2 separate regions of the Homo sapiens genome follow, and region 1 is linked to region 2. Evidence: promoter capture Hi-C in 16 types of primary human blood cells and fetal thymus (Javierre and others, 2016). All regions are on one chromosome and are shown on one strand. The core of a region is centred on a gene start or on the middle of the fragment in contact, and the rest is flanking DNA. Distances in the headings are between cores, read along the strand shown.

Evidence for each region. Contacts are between HindIII fragments. The CHiCAGO score rates a contact against its expected background, and 5 or more counts as called.
Region 1: a contact is called between a fragment that was not itself captured here and the fragment with the promoter of IFNL1 in region 2, in 1 of 17 cell types (endothelial precursors). The highest score is 5.8, in endothelial precursors.

What each region holds. Positions count from the first base shown.
Region 1 is chr19:39,106,614-39,110,481 of GRCh38, forward strand. It overlaps ACP7 (acid phosphatase 7, tartrate resistant (putative)), which reads left to right. Exons shown (of 13, transcript NM_001004318.3): 12 at 334-471; 13 at 3,440-3,868. The coding sequence ends at 3,505. Among named protein-coding and RNA genes, the nearest start is that of PAK4, 17 kb to the right of the region's middle. RefSeq lists an enhancer at 3,821-3,868. The HindIII fragment of the contact is 5,363 bases long and covers 1-3,868 here.
Region 2 is chr19:39,294,440-39,298,637 of GRCh38, forward strand. IFNL1 (interferon lambda 1) reads left to right here and starts at 1,968. Exons shown (of 5, transcript NM_172140.2): 1 at 1,968-2,153; 2 at 2,366-2,443; 3 at 3,525-3,668; 4 at 3,774-3,857; 5 at 3,952-4,198. The coding sequence starts at 1,983. The coding sequence ends at 4,077. The HindIII fragment of the contact is 6,887 bases long and covers 1,652-4,198 here.

The DNA.
Region 1 (3,868 bases), core at 1,020-3,519, 190 kb before region 2:
CCTGGGTTCAAGCAATTATCCTGCCTCAGCTTCCCAAGTAGGTGGGAGTACAGGTGCCCACCACCACACCAGGCTAATTTTTGTATTTTTAGTAGAGACAGGGTTTCACCATGTTGGCCAGGCTGGTCTCTGACTCCTGACCTCAAGTGATCCGCCCTTCTTGGCCTCCCAAAGTGCTGGAATTACAGGCATGAGCCACTGCGCCCGGCCTCTATGGTGGTCAAGTCTTCACTGTCTTCCTTGAGGGCAGCAGGGTCCTGGGCTAGCAGGTCATTTCTGCTTCCCCGCGGGTCCTCCACCTGCTCTGGGTCTGATCAGTTCTCCCCGCCCCAGGGCTGTGAGGAGCGGCTGACGCCCTTTGCTGTCTTCCCGAGGCCCTGGAGTGCCGTGCGTGTGAAGGAGTACGGGTATACGCGGCTGCACATCCTCAACGGGACCCACATCCACATCCAGCAGGTGTCGGACGACCAGGTCAGTGAGGGGCAGGCCGAAGTCACCTGACTGTACAGCCAGGCCCCTCCAAGCAAATGAGCTGTTAAAAACGTGGGCTCGGCCGGGCGCAGTGGCTCATGCCTGCAACACCTGCAATTTGGTGGGGCTAAGGTATGAGGATCGCTTGAGTCCAGGAGTTCAAGACCAGCCTGGGTACCATGGTGAGACCTAGTCTCTACAAAAAATACAAAAAATGGCCAGGCACGGTGGCTCATGCCTGTAATTCCAGCACTTTGGGAAGCCGAGGCAGGCGGATCACAAGGTCAGGAGATCGAGACCATCCTGGCTAACATGGTGAAACCCCTTCTCTACTAAAAATACAAAAAAAATTAGCCAGGCGTGGTGGCAGGTGCCTATAGTCCCAGCTACTCGGGAGGCTGAGGCAGGAGAATGGCGTGAACCCGGGAGGCAGAGCTTGCAGTGAGCCGAGATCGCACCACTCCAGCCTGGGCGACTGAGCAAGACTCTGTCTCAAAAAAAAAAAAAAAAAAAAAATTAGGCCAGGTGCGGTGGTTCATACCTGAAATCCCAGCACTTTGGGAGGCTGAGGTGGGCAGATCACTTGAAGTCAGGAGTTAGAGACCAGCCTGGCCAACATGGTGAAACCCCGTCTCTACTAAAAATACAAAAATGAGCTGGCCATGGTGGCGGGTGCCTGTAATCCCAGCTACAAGGGAGGTTGAGGCAGGAGAATCACTTAAATCTGGGAGGTGAAGTTTGCAGTGACCCAAGATGGCACCACTGCCCTCCAGCCTGGGAGACAGAGTGAGACTCTGTCTTGGAAAAAAAAGGAAAATTAGTCAAGTGTGGTGGCAGATGTCTGTAGTCCCAGCTACTTGGGAGGCTGAGGCAGGAGGATCACTTGAGTGCAGGAGTTAGAGTTTGCAGTGAGCTATGATCTCGCCTCTGTACTCCAGCCTTGGCAACAGAGTGAGACCCTAACTCAAAACAAAAAAACGAACAAATGTGGACTGTAGAACTAGAAACCTGCTCCTGCTGCTTACCAGCTGAGTGACCTTGAGTCACTCATCTAATTTTTTTTTTTTTTTTTTGAGATGGAGTCTCGCTCTGTCACCCAGGCTGGAATGCAGTGGTGCAGTCTTGGTTTACTGCAACCGCCACCTCCCAGGTTCAGGCAATTCTCCTACCTCAGCCTCCCGAGTAGCTGGGATCACAGGCGCCCACCACCACACCCGGCTAATTTTTTGTATTTTTAGTAGAGACAGGGTTTCACTGTGTTGGCCAGAATGGTCTCGAACTCCTGACATCAGGTGATCTGCCTGCCTCAACCTCCCAAAGTGCTGGGATTACAGGTGTGAGCCACTGTGCTGGGCCCACTTATCTAACTTCTTTGCCTCAGTTTTCCCATCTGTGAGAGGGGATAATCATAGTTTCCACCTCACAGGACTACATGGGGGTTGAAGGACTTATTATATATAAAATGCTTAGAAGAGTGCGGAACTTGGTAAATTCTGTAGGTATTTACCATTGTGAGGCAGGGGAAGATAAAGATGGGGGGTGGGACACAGGTAGGGGAAAACAATAAGATGAGTATGTGGTACAGGTGGCTTAAGGTTAGGTGGATCCAAATAATAATGGCTCACCTTTCTTTATTTTTGCCATTGTAGTTTTAAAATAATGACAATATTTATGATTTATTGAGCACCTACTGCATACCAGGCACTGCCTAGATGCTCTGCATTTAGTAGCACTTTATTTATTTATTTGTTTTTGAGACAGAGTTTCACCCTGTCGCCCAGGCTAGAGTGCAGTGGTGCAATCTAAGCTCACTGCAACCTCCACCTCCCAGGTTCAAGCAATTCTCCTGCCTCAGCCTCCCGAGTAGCTGGGATTACAGGCACATGCCACCACACCCGGCTAATTTTTTGTATTTTTAGTAGAGATGGGGTTTCACCATGTTAGCCAGGCTGGTCTTGAACTCCTGACCTCAGGTGATCCACCCACCTGGGCCTCCCAAAGTGCTGGGATTACAGGCATGAGCCACCGCATGCGGCCCCAGTAGCACTTTATACACCAAAACAATCCCACAGGAGTGGATTTCCTCTCCATTTTATAGGTGAGGGAACTGAGGCTCAGAGAGGGGAAGTAATTTTCCCAGGGTCACACAGTTGGAGGACGGCCAAGCTGGGATCTGATAGCTACCATTTATCGAGTGGCACATGCACCGGGCGCAGACTTTTGTGTGCATGATCTCACTCTGTTCTCATGATGACTCTGGGCATCTATTACTTTGTGCATTGCATAGAACATGGAAGTTTTGCTCAGAGAGTCCAGCAACATGCTTAAGGCCACCTAGAGGGTGGATGCGCTGGCCAGGTGCAGCAGCTCATGCCTTTGGGAGGCTGAGGCAGGCGGATCACTTGAGGTCAGGAGTTCGAGACCAGCCTGGCCAACATGGTGAAACCTTGTCTCTAGTAAAAATACAAAAATTAGCCAGGCATGGTGGTGCATGCCTGTAATCCCAGCTACTTGGGAGGCTGGGGCAGGAGAATGGCTTGAACCTGGGAAGCGGAGGTTGCCACTGCACTCCAGCCTGGGTGACAGAGCAAGACTCTGTCTAAAAAAAAAAAAAAAAAAAAAAAAGGAGAGAGAGAGAAAGAGTGGATGTGCTGGAATATAAAGCAAGGTCTGTCTGACTCCAGAGTTTGTGCTCTAATAATAGCCTACACTTACATAGCCCTTTCCATATGCTGGGCTCTGTTTACAAATACTATCTCATTTAACTCCCACAACATCTATGATGTGGGTACTGTTACTCTTCCTATCACTTTTCAGATGAGGAAAACTGAGGCCCAGAGAGGCCTAGCCACTTGCTCAGGGTTGTACAGCCCATCAGAGGGCAGAGAGGGGACTGGAACCCAGGCCATGTGGCCCCAGAGTTCAGGCTTTCAGCTCTAACTACTGTCCCTGTTTTTGTCCCTCACAGGATGGGAAGATCGTAGATGATGTCTGGGTGGTGAGACCCCTGTTTGGCCGGAGGATGTACCTCTAGGGATGGCGGCAGCTCTCCTCCAGAAGCCTAGGTTTTGCCGCCTTGGCTGCTGTGACCAGAAACTGCCCAGGCCTGGGTGGGGAGTTGGGTGGGCCCTGACTCCCCTGCCCTCCAGAGGCCCCATGTAGGGTACATGCAGCCCTATGGAGCTGGGGCAGCTGTTCCCTCCTGGAGAGGTGGGAGTCCTGGCTGGCTGTGGAGGGAGGGCAGGTGTGCGGGCACAGAGTGACACACGGCAGGTTTCTGCTGGCAGGGCCCCACCCTCCTGCATAGCTCTGATCGGGCGAGGTGCCCACGGGGCTTCAGGAATGAAGAGGCTTAAGCTCTGGCTCCATGGATTCTGCACATCTGCGGGGGATGCCG
Region 2 (4,198 bases), core at 718-3,217:
TATTGTATTAGTCAGGGTTCTCCAGAGAGACAGAACAAATAGGATGTTTGGATAAATAGATGATAGATAGAGAGATATAGACTAGATAGATGAGAGAGATAGACTAGATAGAGAGAGAGAGAGAGAGAGAGAGAGAGAGAGACTAGATAGATGAGAGAGAGATAGGAGGGGATTTATTAGGGGAATTGGCTCAGACAATTAGGGAGGCTAAGAAGTTCCACAACAGGCCATCTGCAAGCTGGAGAACCAGGGAAGCTTGTAGTGCAGCTCAGTTCCAGAATAAAAGCCTCAGGACTTAGGGGGTAGCTAGTGCAAGTCCCAGCATTTTTTTTTTTTCTGAGATGGAGTCTCACTCTGTTGACCAGGCTGGAGTGCAGTGACATGATCTCAGCTCACTGCAGCCTCCGCCTCCAGGGTTCAAGCGATACTCCTGCCTCAGCCTCCCAAGTAGCTGGGACTACAGGCCTGTGCCACCACGCCTGGCTGATTTTTATATTTTTAGTAGAGATGGGGTTTCACCATGTTGGCCAGGCTGGTCTCGAACTCCTGACCTCAAGTGATTCACCTGCCTCAGCCTCCCAAACTGCTGGGATTACAGGCGTGAGCCACCATGCCCAGCTGCACATCCCAGCATTCAAAGACCAAAGAGCCTGGAGTTCTGATGTTTAAGGGCAGGTGCAGGGTGTCCCAGCTCATAAGAGAGAGCAAATTCTCCTTTCCTCTGCCTTTTTGTTCTATTCAGGCCCTCGGCCAATTGGATGGTGCCCACCACATTGGGTAACAACGGGTCTTCCTTACTCAGTCCATTGATTCAAATGCCAATCTCTTCTGGAAACACCCCAGAGTCATACCCAGAATTAACGCATCACCAGCTATCTGATAAACTTAACCAGTCAAGGTGACACCTAAAATTAACCATCACAATTATAAAAATAACTACTCAGAGAAACATTAGGAGCATGAACTGAAATTAGTTAATGGGACATTCTTAAACCAATGGCAGAAGCTCCTTCTTGGCCAGGAGCAGTGGCTCATGCCTTTAATACTAGCACTTTGCGAGGCTGAAGCAGGAGGATGGCTTAAGGCCAGGAGTTCAAGACTGGCCTGGGCAACATAGTGAGACCCCTATCTCTACAAAAATAAATAAATAAATAATAAAGTAAGGTGGTGGCTCACGCCTGTAATCCCAGCACTTTGGGAGGCCAAGGCAGGCAGATCATCTGAAGTCAGGAGTTCGAAGCCAGCGTGACCAACATAGTAAAACCCAGTCTCTACTAAAAATACAAAAACTAGCCAGGCGTGATGGCATGCACCTGTAATCCCAACTACTTAGGAGGCTGAGGCAGGAGAATCGCTTCAACTCGGGAGGCAGAAGTTGCAGTGAGCCAAGATTGCACCATTGCACTCCAGCCTGGGCAACAAGAGCAAAACTACGTCTCAAAAAATAATAATAACAATAAAATAAAAAACAAGCTTTTTTTTTTTTGAAACAGGATCTCACTCCATCACCCAGGCTGGAGTGCAGTGGCACGATCTTGGCTCACTGCAACCTCCGCCTCCCGGGTTCAAGTGATTCTCATGCCTCGGCCTCCTGAGTAGCTGAGACCACAGGCGCATGCCACCACACCTGGCTAATTTAGAATAAAAAAGAAGCTTCCTCTCTGCCACTCAGGTAGCCTTATCCCTAATCTCAGCCTCCGTCAGGGACTCCCTGAGGCCAGTTGGCTGAAAGCTGCCCAGGGAGTTCTAAGGATTTCAGTTTCTCTTTCCTTCTTGATGCAGCTCCCAGCTCACTTGGCCCTGCCCACACCTGTTCCCTCATCAGGCTCCCAGACGGGCCCCGCCCACTCATGCCTCTTAAGTCAAAGTGGAAATTCTCATTTCCAATTACCTTTTCACTTTACACACATCATCTTGGATTGCCCATTTTGCGTGGCTAAAAAGCAGAGCCATGCCGCTGGGGAAGCAGTTGCGATTTAGCCATGGCTGCAGCTTGGACCGTGGTGCTGGTGACTTTGGTGCTAGGCTTGGCCGTGGCAGGCCCTGTCCCCACTTCCAAGCCCACCACAACTGGGAAGGGCTGCCACATTGGCAGGTTCAAATCTCTGTCACCACAGGAGCTAGCGAGCTTCAAGAAGGCCAGGGACGCCTTGGTGAGTTCCTGTTGCTGTGGATGAACCACTTCTACGGGTGTCCCAATTACTGCCCTTCTACTGTGGGCTAGCCTCTAGCCTTCCAACTATGGCAAACCTCTATCCTTTCTGCACTGGGTTAAACCCATGCTGTCAGGCCAACTTCATCCTTGCTGCTATGAGCTAGCTTCCAGCCATCCTGCTGTGGGCTAACCCCTGCCCTTGCTCTCTAGGAAGAGTCACTCAAGCTGAAAAACTGGAGTTGCAGCTCTCCTGTCTTCCCCGGGAATTGGGACCTGAGGCTTCTCCAGGTGAGCTGAAAGTCAGGCCCCCTTCACCCTTCCCTTGACCCTCTCCCCCCTCTTCTTAAGTGGCCCCTTAGCCTTCTTTGTTTCCCTTGTCCTTCACTCTCTTGGACCTCTCCTCACCTGTCCTGTGCCCCTGCCACTTCAAAACTGCTCTCTTGACTCTGTCCTTCCCCTGGGTCCCTTTTATCATCTCCCATCGGCCCCACTTCCCTAGCTCGCTCACCTGTCCCTGTCACTTCCACTCTCACTCTTCATTTCTCTCCCAAATGTCTCCAGTCTGTCGCCCACCTGTGCCTTTCGTCCTGCTCCACTTCTCCCTGTCTGTTCCCAACACTGACCCCCTCTCCCTCTCACCTGCCTCTGTCACCTGTCCCTCATTATCTCTCACTGACATTCATCCAGCTCATGCTCCCCCCTCATCCACCCTTCTCTTTTTTTTTTTTTTTTTTTTTTTTTTGAGACAGAGTCTTGCTCTATGGCCCAGGCTGGAGTGCAGTGGCATGATCTCGGTTCACTGCAACCTCTGCCTCCCGGGTTCAAGCAATTATCCTGCCTCAGCCTCCCGAGTAGCTGGGATTACAGGCATGTGCCATGATGCCCAGCTAATTTTTGTATTTTTAGCAGAGACGGGGTTTCACTATGTTGGCCAGGCTTGGTCTCGAAATCCTGACCTCAGGTGATCCACCCGCCTCGGCCTCCCAAAGTGCTGGGATTACAGGCGTGAGCCACCACACCCAGCCCTACCCTTCTTCTCTGTGCATGCAACTGTCCCTCTCTTACTGTGCCCCCAACCTGCTTTCTCCTCACCCGTCCCCACCCCGCCCCAGAGAACTTCTGTGACCCCCGTAAGTCCCCTTTCATTTGTCTCCATTTCACTTATCCCCTCACCTGCCTCCTTGACCATCCTGCCTCACCTGTATCCTTCCTCATGTCTTCCCCCTCCTGTCTCCTTCTCCCCAGACCCCTCACCTGTCCCCACCACATGCACTGTGTCACCGACCTTCCCCAGGACTGCCTACCTGTCCCCACTAACTGGGTCTTCTTGCCTGTTCTCCCTCACCTGCTCTTTCTCACCTCTCCTCAGGTGAGGGAGCGCCCTGTGGCCTTGGAGGCTGAGCTGGCCCTGACGCTGAAGGTCCTGGAGGCCGCTGCTGGCCCAGCCCTGGAGGACGTCCTAGACCAGCCCCTTCACACCCTGCACCACATCCTCTCCCAGCTCCAGGCCTGTGTGAGTCCTTGGGGCCCGGGCACCCAGGTCTGTGGGCTCTGAGCAGCATCCTTCCCCTGTGGTGGCCCAGGCTCCGCCTCACACACCGCCCTCTTCTGCCCACAGATCCAGCCTCAGCCCACAGCAGGGCCCAGGCCCCGGGGCCGCCTCCACCACTGGCTGCACCGGCTCCAGGAGGCCCCCAAAAAGGTGAGTGACCCAGGAAGAGAAGGACCAGGGTCTGGGGAGCCAATAGGAGCCCAGACCCTGGACAGCCCCTGACCCATCCCCTCCTCCCCTACAGGAGTCCGCTGGCTGCCTGGAGGCATCTGTCACCTTCAACCTCTTCCGCCTCCTCACGCGAGACCTCAAATATGTGGCCGATGGGAACCTGTGTCTGAGAACGTCAACCCACCCTGAGTCCACCTGACACCCCACACCTTATTTATGCGCTGAGCCCTACTCCTTCCTTAATTTATTTCCTCTCACCCTTTATTTATGAAGCTGCAGCCCTGACTGAGACATAGGGCTGAGTTTATTGTTTTACTTTT